Linked DNA regions of Homo sapiens: region 2 is linked to region 1. The links are contacts of gene promoters, found by promoter capture Hi-C in blood cells and fetal thymus (Javierre and others, 2016). All regions are on one chromosome and are shown on one strand. Each heading gives the region's core, a stretch centred on a gene start or on the middle of the fragment in contact. The rest is flanking DNA. Distances are from core to core; before and after follow the strand shown. Region 1 holds the start of CEP97 (centrosomal protein 97). Region 2 has its middle 220 kb from the start of ZPLD1.

The links. The method cuts DNA at HindIII sites, captures the fragments that hold promoters and counts their contacts. A CHiCAGO score of 5 or more calls a contact.
Region 2: a contact is called between a fragment that was not itself captured here and the fragment with the promoter of CEP97 in region 1, in 1 of 17 cell types (total CD4 T cells). The highest score is 5.4, in total CD4 T cells.

Annotation. Positions count from the first base shown.
Region 1 is chr3:101,720,946-101,728,177 of GRCh38, forward strand. It overlaps CEP97 (centrosomal protein 97), which reads left to right and starts at 3,669. Exons shown (of 11, transcript NM_024548.4): 1 at 3,669-3,774; 2 at 5,649-5,791; 3 at 6,438-6,596. The coding sequence starts at 3,732. RefSeq lists enhancers at 1,449-1,508, 3,645-4,014, 4,295-4,364, 4,536-5,147. The HindIII fragment of the contact is 6,095 bases long and covers 770-6,864 here.
Region 2 is chr3:102,214,655-102,221,886 of GRCh38, forward strand. No RefSeq gene overlaps it. Among named protein-coding and RNA genes, the nearest start is that of ZPLD1, 220 kb to the right of the region's middle. The HindIII fragment of the contact is 6,610 bases long and covers 84-6,693 here.

The DNA of each region.
Region 1 (7,232 bases), core at 2,419-4,918:
TTACCAGGCTCTATTACGACAATCTCCTTCCTGCCTTCTTCCTTTCAATTCTATTATTACTTTCAATTCATCCTTGTTATATGAGTTTAACCTTTCTACAACACAAGTATCATTATATCAATCCCTCACTCAAAAACACCAAATGAAAACGAGTAGGATGAACGGTGGGAGGTAGGGTGAAGCCACATTATGGTGGCCCTTGCAAGTTGAACTTAAAGTGAGAAGTTTTTGAGAGGGGAATAACATGCTAAAAGGCATTGTTTTACTTAGATCATGCCAGTAACTGTGGGCAGATGAATTAGAGATGGCAAAGATCGGGGTAATCAGCTGTCGTAGGGATTAAGTATACTGTGCTGATAGGAAAGTCTTTCTCATAGGGCCTGGGCCTGCCAGAGAAACATTACCTTACTGAGAGGTTCATAGTTTTAAGTAGTAGAATCCTAATTTGGTTTGAGCTTATAGAGTTTAACATATATACAAAATGAGGCAGTTTAAAGTGTAGCAATTTGATTTTAGGCGTAAAAGCTATTATTTGAAGCACAAAAGAATTTCTGTGCAGTAATTTTAAAGCGTTGCTGAGTCACTTGGGCATGTGAGACCTTGCCCAGGAACATCTGGCTACTTACTTTAAAAGCCGTGACTATACTTAGCTGCATAAAAAAAGTCCTTTGGTCCTTTCCTCTGGATTCCAGGGCAGATGAACCAGGCAAACAATGTTTCAGCTATTGCTGTAAACTTGCAGGAACCTCTGCTTCTTAAGTACCTTTTAAGCTTCCAGGACTCCCTATCAAGTAATTACCATGCTAAATTGTAAAGAACCATAAACCCTTTCTCCCAGATCCCTATGGCCTATTCCAGGGAATAAGGGTTAGCAGAGGCAGTATTCAGGCTTGCTTTGTTCTTCTTCTTTTGTTTTCTTTTCTCTTTCTTTCTTTTCTTTCTTTCCTTACTTTTTTTTTTTTTTGACAGAGTTCTGCTCGTGTTGCCCAGGCTGGAGTGCAGTGGCACAATCTCCGCTCACTGTAACCTCCGCCTCCTAGATTCAAGCGATTCTCCTGCCTCAGCCTCCCAAGTAGCTGGGATTACAGGCATGTGCAACTATGCCCAGCTAATTTTGTATTTTTAGTAGAGATGGGGTTTCGCCATGTTGGCCAGGCTGGTTTCAAACCCCTGACCTCAGGTGATCCTCCCGCCTCGGCCTCCCAAAGTGCTGGGATTACAGGCGTGAGCCACCGCGCCCGGCCTTACTTTGTTCTTACACATATAGTAAGATTGTGTTCTCTAGGTAAGGAGTTTCTTGGTTAAAAGGAAAAAAATCCTAGTCTTAATTGCCCCTTCAGAACTAGGAAATTTGTCTTTAGACCAAAGCAGCAGGAAACAAGAATCGAAAGGAGTTAAAACAAGTGTAGAGAGATAGGAGAACCCAGGAAAGGGGGAATGCTCAGAGAATCCAGTGCCTGGAAATCTAGAAGCATGAATTACTAGATTTTCCCAAGCAAAAATGATCAGACTTTGCAGATTGCTGTTTCAGAAAGAGGGGAGTTCAGAATAAAGGTTGCAAGAGGAAGTGGGAGAGCTGGTAGTAGAAAGCAGAAGTTTTTTGTATACTCTGTTTAGTTTCTCACTTCCTGTGAGCACAACTTCGTTACCACCTGCAGCCTGTGCTGTCTTTTCACCTTTTACTTTAGAACTAACTGTTCAGTCTACCCATCAAAAGATGGGTACATTTACTTCCTCCATCAAGTCTTCACTGAAGATTTCAGATTCTATTTCTTTCTCAATTCCCTGAAATATTAGTGAGCTCAGTCACAATCACACCGTTTAGCATATAATAGTTGCATCAAAAGAAGGCTCGGCGCCGTTGCTCACGCTTGTAATCCCAGCACTTTGCCGGGCTGAGGCAGAAGGATCACTTGAGCTCAGGAGTTCAAGGCCAGCCTGGGCAAAAAAAAATTGTCTCTAAAAAAAAAAAAAGAAAAAAGTGTGAGCCTGCTTTCTTCCAACTAGGCAATGTATTTCTTGAATTTGGAGACTATATAAAAATATATTTATATACATAATCTATATTTATATATAAATATATAACATATATAATATATAATATATAAATATATAACATATATAATATATAATATATAAATCTATAACATATATAATATATAATATATAACATATATAATATATAATATATAATATATATAACATATATAATATATAATATATAACATATATAACACATATAATATATAAATATATAACATATATAATATATAACATATAACATATATAATATATAAATATATAACATATATAATATATAATATATAAATATATAACATATATAATATATAATATATAAATATATAACATATATAATATATAATATATAAATATATAACATATATAATATATAATATATAAATATATAACATATATAATATATAAATGTATAACATATATAATATATAAATATATAACATATAACATATATATCTAAATATATAACATATATAATATATAATATCTAAATATATAACATATATAATATATAATATCTAAATATATGACATATATAATATATAATATCTAAATATATAACATATATAATATATAATATATAAATATATGACATATATAATATATCTAAATATATAACATATATAATATATAATATCTAAATATATAACATATATAATATATAATATCTAAATATATAACATATAATATATAATATCTAAATATATAACATATATAATATATAATTTATATATAATTATAATATATGCAATATCTATATAAAATATATATATTTTTGAGACATAGTTTCGCTCTTGTTGCCCAGGCTGGAGTGCAGTGGCATGATATCGGCTCACTGCAACCTCTGCCTCCCGGGTTCAAGCGATTCTCCTGCCTCAGCCTCCCGAGTACCTGGGATTACAGGCATGCGCCGCCACGCCAGGCTAATTTTTTTGTATTTTTACTACAGACGGGGTTTCTCCATGTTGGCCAGGCGGGTCTCGAATTCCCGACCTCAGGTGATCAGCCTGCGTTGACCTCCCAAAGTGCTGGGATTACAGACGTGAACCACTGCGCCCGGCCTGGAGATTATATTTTAAAGTTATTTTGAATACTCCCTGGAAAAGTTCTTGGTTCATACTTATACCCGTAAGTCAAAAGATTTGTCAAATATTCAAGAACAATCAAACAATCACTTAAAAATACTGTATAAAAGTTTCTATTTCGGCATACTTTACTTTTACTTAACTAAAATTTCAAATAAAATGTATCCACTTTTATGATCTCAACAAGATCGGTCATTCCTATAGCGGAGTTGAAAACTTTCAACTTATTCACAATTATCAAAAGAATGGAGCAGCCCCCACAGAGACTTCCAGCAATGAGTTGTAAAATGCAGTCTGCATTAAGTAGCTTCCTTACAATCATCCCGATGGTAAAAGTGTCAAATTTCGCAAACGCCTGGACAAGGAAGTGAAATGATCATCTAATAACGCAGTTGACTCATCTGTCAAATAAGCGAGTGGGCCAGGGTCCCTGAGCTCACTACCCTCAGATTCTAACTCCAGCTTCACATCATTAGGCGTAAGCAGCCAATTGGGCCGTCTGGGAGCCGTGCATCCTGGGAGTTATAGTTTCCGGCTCCCTCCTTCAGATTACAAGCTCCACAGAGCCGCGGGAGGACGGTTGCCTGGTATTATTAGCAAGCAGCAAATATGGCGGTGGCGCGCGTGGACGCGGCTTTGCCTCCCGGAGAAGGTAAGGCGATCCCTACCCCGAGTCCTAAGGTTTACTTCACGGAGCTGAATTAAATAGTGGAGAGCAGAAAACCTAGGTTTAGATGTGCAGTTCTGGACCAGTTCTTTTGATGCGGATCTGTGGTCGTCGCGGAGGCGGGCTACCCTCTGGGAGTTGTAGTTCACCTGCCGTTCCCAGCTCTCCGGCGTCGCGGTGAGGGCCGAGCGGGGGACTACAGCCCCCAGAAGCCTTCGCGCGGCCCGGCGCCCTGGCTCCCGCGCTCCCGATGCTGAGGAGGCGGTGGATTTCGGGCTGCGATGACCTTTCTTGACCATTTACTTTGAGTCATGGGTGCCTAAGCGAAATGTTTGGGATCTCCCTCTTTCGCTTCACACATCTCCCTCTCTTCTTGGTTCCTGGAACCATCAGGAAAACCTTCCCTCAGAGACCGCTGCCTAGTCTGGCTTTGAACCCTTCCTCGGAGGTGGCCAGTGGCCGTGATAAAATCTAAGGGATGATCCAGAGCCCGCAGTTCTGTACTCCTTGTTCTTGCACACGGGTCCTAGGATCGAGTTTGGTCGCTGCCCAGTAGAGCACAGGACTGTGTGGGTGCTTCTGTGGCCTGAAGATACCTACCTCTTTGGGGCGCCGGACGCGAGCTGCTTTTGTTTTGGTTACAGCTCCGAGGCTTGGCAGCAGTCAGTCCTCTAAATCGGGGACAGGGCCCAGGGGTCGAGGCCCGTCTTCATGGCTTAGACCAGGAGTGCATTTTCTGGGAGCTGTAAATTCTTGGGGGAAGAGTTGGTGGATGGTTCTCAGACCTCTCTGTCGACCCCTTGGAATTGTGTACAAAGGCTGTGCACTTTTCTGAGACAGCACACCCCTTTCATCAATTTTTCAGAGGGGCTCACGACTCCTCACATGCTAAGAGCCATTAGACAACGGGAAAACGTTGAAATCCTCCAGGAGAGCAATCTGGCATAATTATTTCCTGCAGTAGTCCTAATCTGGGTGTAAATTTGAAATTGGCCGTTTCTCTGGCCCCGCCCTCTTTGGAGATCGGCTTTTCTTAAACCACACCTCTCAAGCCCACCAGGGCTACTTAACTGTTAATAGCAGTTAACATTTACAGAGCACTTTGTATGACCCAGGCGATGTTCTCAGTCCTTTTTTTTTTTGTTTTTTTTTTTACATTATCTCATTTTCTCTGTAGAACTACATTTATAAGGCAGGTATTATCCCCACTTTACAGAGTAGAAAAGGGAGCCCAAAAGAAATCAATAATTTGCCTAATATACCACAATGGTTAATTGGTGGAGCCAGGGTTTGAACGTCTATGTTATACTAAAGTGCCTTATTGAGTGCCCGGTGGCAGGAACGGGGCTAAGTACTATTCATATGGTTTCTCTTTTAATTCTCATATCAAGCTAGGGAAATGGGTGTATTATCCTATTTTATGGGAGAATTAGTTGAACTATACTTTGATTTTCAAAATCACAGTTTGGGCACTTTAGGATATATTGGTAGTTAGGCTGTAAGCTGGTGGATTGCAGTCAAAAGTTTAGTAACATTTAAACAATAGTATCATTACTTAGGCACAACAAATGGAAGTAATCGTCCATATTTAAATGTGAAAATTTTCAAAGTATATCTTAGCAACTTGAGGAGAATATCACACGTCTAGTTTTAATTTGATATTTCTGAAGAAAAATGAGTAATTCAATCTGGTCATTTAGAACTCAAGATTGCTTTAATTTTACAATGTTGATATTTATTATGCTCTACTGTTCTTTAACTTGAAATGGTATAGAGATTTTATAATTCCAGCCCTATGCTTAGCTGTTGTACATGTTTTATTTTATTTGTGTTTTCTAACATTTCCGTTTCTTTTCAAGGATCAGTGGTCAATTGGTCAGGACAGGGACTACAGAAATTAGGTCCAAATTTACCCTGTGAAGCTGATATTCACACTTTGATTCTGGATAAAAATCAGATTATTAAATTGGAAAATCTGGAGAAATGCAAACGATTAATACAGGTAGGTATTGCAATCTGGGAAATGGTTACATAGGATCAATTTATTATTAAACAAAACAATAAAATAACCTGACAAAAAGTAACTGTGCAGCCCTAGCAAGCAGTCATTGTTGCCTTAAATTTTTACATGACAGTTTCTTCTGAAGATGAACATACATGTACTACATTGAGAGTAGATTAGAAAAAAAAAGCATTGTTAAGAAAAGGAAGCATTTTATTTTGCAAAATACTGTGTTACTAAGGTAACCTTTTACCTCATGATGGGGGTAAAGAGTTCATTCATTCCTTCATTCAAGAAATGGTTACTGCGTCCCTCTTATATGTCTGGCACTGTATTAAGTTTTGACTGAGAGTTTAACAGCACTATTCTTGTGGAACTTACATTCTCAAGTTGTTGCTGTGTTAAAAATGTCTTAGTAGTTAGAGGAGGTCTGATCGCTCAGCTTTATCTGTATTTTCTATTGCCCAGGAACAATAACAAAAAACTGATAGTCATACTGTAGAATATTTAGACAATATATGTGAAATGTACAAAAGGAGTTTGTTTGAGAGTGTTTGGCTGTCTAAATAAACCTTTTAAATCACTTTAATGTGAAATATTTTATATATGTTATTCCTAAAAATAACAATATGTTTCCTTTTTACAGTTATCAGTAGCTAATAATCGGCTGGTTCGGATGATGGGTGTGGCCAAGCTGACGTTGCTTCGTGTATTAAATTTGCCTCATAATAGCATTGGCTGTGTGGAAGGGCTAAAGGAACTAGTACATCTGGAATGGCTGAATTTGGCAGGAAATAATCTTAAGGTGAATGGTTTCTTTTTTGTTTACAAAACTATTCTGCGTAAAAAAAATTCAAGCAATGTAGAAATAAGTCAAATTAAAAAGTGAAAGTACCCACTCCCACTCTCCAGGGATAATCTCTGTTAAAATAAACTAAAAATAAATCTCATTTTGAAACATATAATATGACATAATATTCTTTTAAATTTGAACAAAGAATCTATATTGTACTTAGAAAAAAGTAGATCAAACCATAGAGTGTTTAGGAGGGAGACTATATCATGCTGAATTAAGCTTTAAGTAAATGTTTAATGCTATAAGGGAGAATATACAGTTTTAAAAGTTAGGAGATCTGAATTCTAGTCCTACTTGCACTACTTAGTAACTGTGTAATTTTGGGTAAATTAATACATATTTCTGCGTCTTATTTTTTGGCATGCTAGCTGAGAGGACTAGATTACCAATAGCTGCCTTTTATTGAGCCATTAATGTATCTGAGCTACTGTTCTAAACATTTATCTGTATTAACTTATTCAATCTCATGGTAGCCTGCGAAGTAGATATAGACATTATGCGTGTTATAAAGGTGAAGGAACTAAAGCACAGAAAAGTAACTTGCTCAAGGTCACACAGCTAGGAAGTTGCAGGGCCAGAATGTAA
Region 2 (7,232 bases), core at 2,139-4,638, 490 kb after region 1:
GCTCAAAGGTTCCAATTTCTCCACATCTTCTCCAACATTTGCTATTTTTTAAATCTGTAAAATTCCTTTAAAAAAAGGGAAAAAGCTTCATGATATTGGTCTAGCCAATTTTTTAAAAATGTGATACCAAAAGCACAAACAACAAAAGTAAAAATCTACAAATGGGACTACATCAAACCAAAAGCTCTGCAGAGGAAATTAAGCAATCAACAAAATGAAAAGGCAACCTACAAAATGAAAGAAAATACTTGCAAATCATATATGTGATAAAAGAGTTAACATTGAAATATATAAGGAACTACTATGACTCGATGAAAAAAATCTTATTAAAAATGTACAAAGGATTTGAATAGACATTTCTCCAAAGAACACATACAAATGGCCAACAGGTATATGACAAAGTGTGTAATGTCACTAAACATCAGGGAAATGCAAGTTGAAATCACAATAACATCTAATACCTGTTATGATGGCTATTAGAAAACGAAAACAGAAACAAAAGATACAAAAGATAAGTGGAGCATCACTTTTAATTTGAAGAGACAGATTTTCCTTTCTTTCTTTATTTTAAAAATTATATGCAACAGTGTATTCTACTGATAGCCACATAGCATTAAAGAAAAGCTCAACAAATCTGGATCACATGACTTTTTGTAAAAGGAAAATGGGTATCTTATCAGTAAGCGTGACATCTTTTAAGTACTTTGTCATAGCGGAACTGGGGGAATTTCATGAGGTACAAAAGATTTTTATGGTTACTCTCCACCTCATTACAAAGTATTGTCAAGATCTTGTTTTTCAGAGCCAAAGACAAAAACCACATGATTATCTCAATAGATGCAGAAAAGGCCTTTGACAAAATTCAACAACCCTTCATGCTAAAAACTCTCAATAAATTAGGTATTGATGGGACGTATCTCAAAATAATAAGAGCTATCTATGACAAACCCACAGCCAATATCATACTCAATGGGCAAAAACTGGAAGCATTCCCTTTGAAAACTGGCACAAGACAGGGATGCCCTCTCTCACCACTCCTATTCAACATAGTGTTGGAAGTTCTGGCCAGGGCAATTAGGCAGGAGAAGGAAATACAGGGTATTCAATTAGGAAAAGAGGAAGTCAAATTGTCCCTGTTTGCAGATGACATGATTGTATATCTAGAAAACCCCATCATCTCAGCCCAAAATCTCCTTAAGCTGATAAGCAACTTCAGCAAAGTCTCAGGATACAAAATCAATGTACAAAAATCACAAGCATTCTTATACACAAACAACAGACAAACAGAGAGCCAAATCATGAGTGAACTCCCATTCACAATTGCTTCAAAGAGAATAAAATACCTAGGAATCCAACTTACAAGGGATGTGAAGGACCTCTTCAAGGAGAACTACAAACCACTGCTCAAGGAAATAAAAGAGGATGCAAACAAATGGAAGAACATTCCATGCTCATGGGTAGGAAGAATCAATATCATGAAAATGGCCATACTGCCCAAGGTAATTTACAGATTCAATGCCATCCCCATCAAGCTACCGATGCCTTTCTTCACAGAATTGGAAAAAACTACTTTAAAGTTCATATGGAACCAAAAAAGAGCCTGCATCACCAAGTCAATCCTAAGCCAAAAGAACAAAGCTGGAGGCATCACACTACCTGACTTCAAACTATACTACAAGGCTACAGTAACCAAAACAGTATGGTACTGGTACCAAAACAGAGATATAGATCAATGGAACAGAACAGAGCCCTCAGAAATAATGCCGCATATCTACAACTATCTGATCTTTGACAAACCTGAGAAAAACAAGCAATGGGGAAAGGATTCCCTGTTTAATAAATGGTGCTGGGAAAACTGGCTAGCCATATGTAGAAAGCTGAAACTGGATCCCTTCCTTACACCTTATACAAAAATCAATTCAAGATGGATTAAAGACTTAAACGTTAGACCTAAAACCATAAAAACCCTAGAAGAAAACCTAGGCTTTACCATTCAGGACATAGGCATGGGCAAGGACTTCATGTCTAAAACACCAAAAGCAATGGCAACAAAAGCCAAAATTGACAAATGGGATCTAATTAAACTAAAGACCTTCTGCACAGCAAAAGAAACTACCATCAGAGTCAACAGGCAACCTACAAAATGGGAGAAAATTTTGCAACCTACTCATCTGACAAAGGGCTAATATCCAGAATCTACAATGAACTCAAACAAATTTACAAGAAAAAAACAAACAACCTCATCAAAAAGTGGGCGAAGGACATGAACAGACACTTCTCAAAAGAAGACATTTATGCAGCCAAAAAACACATGAAAAAATGCTCATCATCACTGGCCATCAGAGAAATGCAAATCAAAACCACAATGAGATACCATCTCACACCAGTTGGAATAGCAATCATTAAAAAGTCAGGAAACAACAGGTGCTGGAGAGGATGTGGAGAAATAGGAACACTTTTACACTGTTGGTGGGACTGTAAACTAGTTCAACCCTTGTGGAAGTCAGTGTGGCGATTCCTCAGGGATCTAGAACTGGAAGTACCATTTGACCCAGCCATCCCATTACTGGGTATATACCCAAAGGACTATAAATCATGCTGCTATAAAGACACATGCACACGTATGTTTGTTGTGGCATTGTTCACAATAGCAAAGGCTTGGAACCAACCCAAATGTCCAACAATGATAGACTGGATGAAGAAGATGTGGCACATATACACCATGGAATACTATGCAGCCATAAAAAAGGATGAGTTCATGTCCTTTGTAGGGACATGGATGAAATTGGAAGTCATCATTCTCAGTAAACTATTGCAAGAACAAAAAACCAAACACTGCATATTCTCACTCATGGGTGGGAACTGAACAATGAAATCACATGGACACAGGAAGGGGAATATCACACTCTGGGGACTGTTGTGGGGTGGGGGGGAGGGGGGAGGGATAGTATTGGGAGATATACCTAATGCTGGATGACGAGTTGGTGGGAGCAGCGCACCAGCATGGCACATGTATACATATGTAACTAACCTGCACAATGTGCACATGTACCCTAAAACTTTAATAAAAAAAAAAAGATCTTGTTTTTGTAAAATCAGTTACATCAATGACATTTGGTAGCACTCTGTGCACTTCTTTTTCACCTGCTTTGCTGTATTTTCATCTGCTTTGTCTTTGAACAATGGAGTGCCAAAATTTCATGTGATTTGCTCTCTCTACAACTTACTCTGGAAATTATTATTCTTTCTTATTATAGTCAAAGCTGTTACTCCATCAACAAGTAGTTTAAAATTTTTATACATACATTAGAGAAATAATTTATAAGTAGAAAAGATCATTGAATATACTTTTTGTTATTCTCAATAAAGTTAGTGTTTTATATATATTTATTTATATTTATATATATATAAAATCATTGGAAAAAGTCTAGAATACTAGAATATATCATAAGCTGAAAAACAGATATACTTTTATCCAATTGTATAACAAACTTCCCACACCAGGTAATATTTATTTCTTTAAATCCTCAAGGTTTTTGTGTCTTCCAATAGTATTTTCTAACAAAAGAATGCATTATAATTTGTACCTGTTTTATTTCCCAGGTGTTTTATTTTCCAGATGCATTTACTGTAGAAAGAACAATGTTTCCCAATGGTATATAGTTTTTCTTTAATCCTTAGGTAGGAGATTAAATATTTATTACATATTTAATGAAATATTGTGAAGTCCTGGGTTAGTTATTGCATGATACTTTGAACCACTATTAAAAAAACCTGTTGATATTTGTCTTCATAATTCTGTATGGTGATTTATGCCTTAGTAATTTTGATGGCTTTAAAATGATCATTAATATTTTAAAGTACAAAATCTACTTAGAGAAAGACTAATCTTTAAAGATAGTGGATATAAACTATATTTCATAGAGTCTTCTTGATAATTTTGAATCATTTTATGCAATTAATGTCAGGGTAAATGGCCGTTGTTTTTACCACATCATATGGCTGACAAAGAACTTATTGAAATACATCTATAAAGTATAACATTATCTTGTTTCCTTACATTGTTTGAGGCAACCCATTTAAAAATTTATGTATAACTTTATTATGAAATTTTATACACATAGACAAAAATAGAACATAATGAACCTGATGTGCTTATCTTCCAGCTTCAATAATTATCACTGTATGGCATATCTTATTTCATCTATGCCTCCCTACTTACCTATACTTCAGATTATTTTAAATCAATTTCTAGACAACATATAATTTTATCTATATGGTTCAGTGCATATCTTTAAAAATGATTGTAATACTGACTACATACAAAATTAACAATAAATTTCCAATATTATTAAATATTTAATGTTCAATTTTTTTCTCATTGTTTATAATTTTATTTATATTTTTGAATATAGAAGCAATGGGCTCAAGATACATTTTGAGGATAGATTCTACACTAGTTTCTGTTTGATTGGTTTAATGGTGGAGAAAAGAGAGAGGAATTTGAAGGTGAAACAATTTTCTAGGGGGGTCGTATACTTAAATGAGGACGACTGTAGAGGTAGATTTGGGTGAGAAGATAAAGCATTCAGCTGTGGAAATATCAAGACGGAAACAACATGTTAACATTTGGATGAATAAGCCTGTAACTCAAAAAAGGGGTTGTGGTTTAGAGACATAGATTTGGAAATATATATATCATAGATAATATTTATTTTTTTTACTTCTTTGCCAGCTTCTTTTTTCTTTCTTTTTAAAATTATACTTTAAATTCTGGGATACATGTGCAGAACATGTAGGTTTGTTACATAGGTATACATGGGCCATGGTGGTTTGCCGCACCCATCAACTTGTCATCTAAGTTTTAAGCCCTGTCTGCATTAGGTATTTGTCCTAATGCTCTCCCTCCCCTTGCCCCCCAACCCCCGACAGGCCTCAGTGAATGATGTTCCCCTTCCTGTGTCCATGTGTTCTCATTGTTCAACTCCCACTTATGAATGAGAACATACAGTGTTTGTTTTTCTGTTTCTGTGCTGTTAGTTTGCTGAGAATGATGGTTTCCAGCTTCATCCATGTCCCTGCAAAGGACATGAAGTCATTCTTTTTTATGGCTGCATAGTATTCCATGGTGTATATGTGCCACATTTTCTTAATCCAGTCTATCGTTGATGGGCATTTGGGTTCGTTCAAAGTCTTTGCTATTGTGAATAGTGCTGCAATAAACATATGTATGCATGTGTCTTTATAGCAGAATGATTTATAATCCTTTGGGTATATACCCAGTAATGGTATTGCTGGGTCAAATGGTATTTCTGGTTCTAGATCCTTGAGGAATCATCACACTGTCTTCCATAATGGTTGAACTAATTTACACTCCCACCAACAGTGTAAAATCGTTCCTATTTCTCCACATCCTCTCCAGCATTTGTTGTTTCCTGACTTGTTAATAATCTCCATTCTAACTGGCGTGAGAAGGTATCTCATTGTGGTTTTGATTTGCATTTCTCTAATAACCAGTGATAATGAGTTTTTTTTCATGTTTGTTGGCTGCATAAATGTCTTCTTTTGAAAAGCGTCTGTTCATATCCTTTGCCCACTTTTTGATGAGATTGTTTGTTTTTTTCTTGTAAATTTGTTTAAGTTCCTTGAAGATTCTGGATGTTAGCCCTTTGTCAGATGGATAGATTGCAAAAATTTTCTCCCATTCTGTAGGTTGCCTGTTGACTCTGATGGTAGTTTCTTTTGCTGTGCAGAAGCTCTTTAGTTTAATTAGATCCCATTTGTCAATTTTGACATTTGTTGCCATTGCTTTTGGTGTTTTAGTCATGAAGTCTGTGGCTATGCCTATGTCCTGAATGGTATTGCCTAGGTTTTCTTCTAGGGTTTTTATGGTTTTAGGTTTTATGTTTAAGTCTTTAATGAATCTTGAGTTAATTTTTGTATAAGGTGTAAGGAGGGGATCCAGTTTCAGTTTTCTGCATATGACTAGCCAATTTTCCCAGCACCATTTATTAAATAGGGAATCCTTTCCCCGTTGCTTGTTTTGTCAGGTTTGTCAAAGATCAGGTGGTTGTAGATGTGTGGTGTTATTTCTGAGGCCTCTGTTCTGTTCCATTTATCTATATATCTGTTTCGATACAAGTAGAATGCTGTTTTGGTTACTGTAGCCTTGTAGTATAGTTTGAAATGAGGTAGCATGAGGCCTCTGGCTTTGTTCTTTTTGCTTAAGATTGTCTTGGCTATACGAGCTCTTTTTGGGTTCCATATGAAATTTTAAGTAAATTTTTTCTAATTCTGTGAAGAAAGTCAATGGTAGCTTGATGGGAATAGCTTTGAATCTATAAATTACTTTGGGTAGTATGGCCATTTTCACGATATTGATTCGTCCTATCATTGAGCATGGAATGTTTTTTCATTTGTTTGCGTCCTCTCTTATTTTCTTGAGCAGTGGTTTGTAGTTTTCCTTGAAGAGGTCCTTCACATCCCTTGTAAGTTGTATTCCTAAGTATTTTATTCTCTTTGAAGCAATTGTGAATGGCAGTTCGCTCATGATTTGGCTCTCTGCCTATTATTGGTTTTTCCTTTCCATATTTAGTGCTTCCTTAAGGAGCTCTTGTAAGGCAGGCCTGGTGGTGACAAAATCCCCCAGCATTTGCTTGTCTGTAAAGGATTTTATATTTCCTTCGTTTATGAAGCTTAGTTTGGCTGGATTATGAAATTCTGGGTTGAAAATTCTTTACTTTAAGAATGTTGAATGTTGGTTCCCACTCTCTTCTGGCTTGTAGGGTTACTGGAGAGAGATCTGCTGTTAGTCTGATGGGCTTCCGTTTGTAGGTAAACTGACCTTTCTCTCTAGCTACCATTAACATTTTTTCCTTCATTTCAGCTTGGAGAATCTGATGATTATGTGTCTTGGAGTTGCTCTTCTCAAGGAGTATCTTAGTAATGTTGTCTGTATTTCCTGAATTTGAATGTTGGCCTGTCTTTCTAGGTTGGGGAAGTTCTTTTGGATAATATCCTGAAGAGTGTTTTCCAACTTGGTTCCATTCTTCCCGTCACTTTCAGGTATACCAATCAATCATAGGTTTGGTCTTTTCACATAGTCCCCTATTTCTTGGAGAGTTTTTTCATTCCATTTTATTCTTTCTTCTCTAATCTTGTCTTCATGCCTTATTGCAGTAAGTTGATCTTCAATCTCTGATATCCTTTCTTCCATTTGATTGATTCGGCTA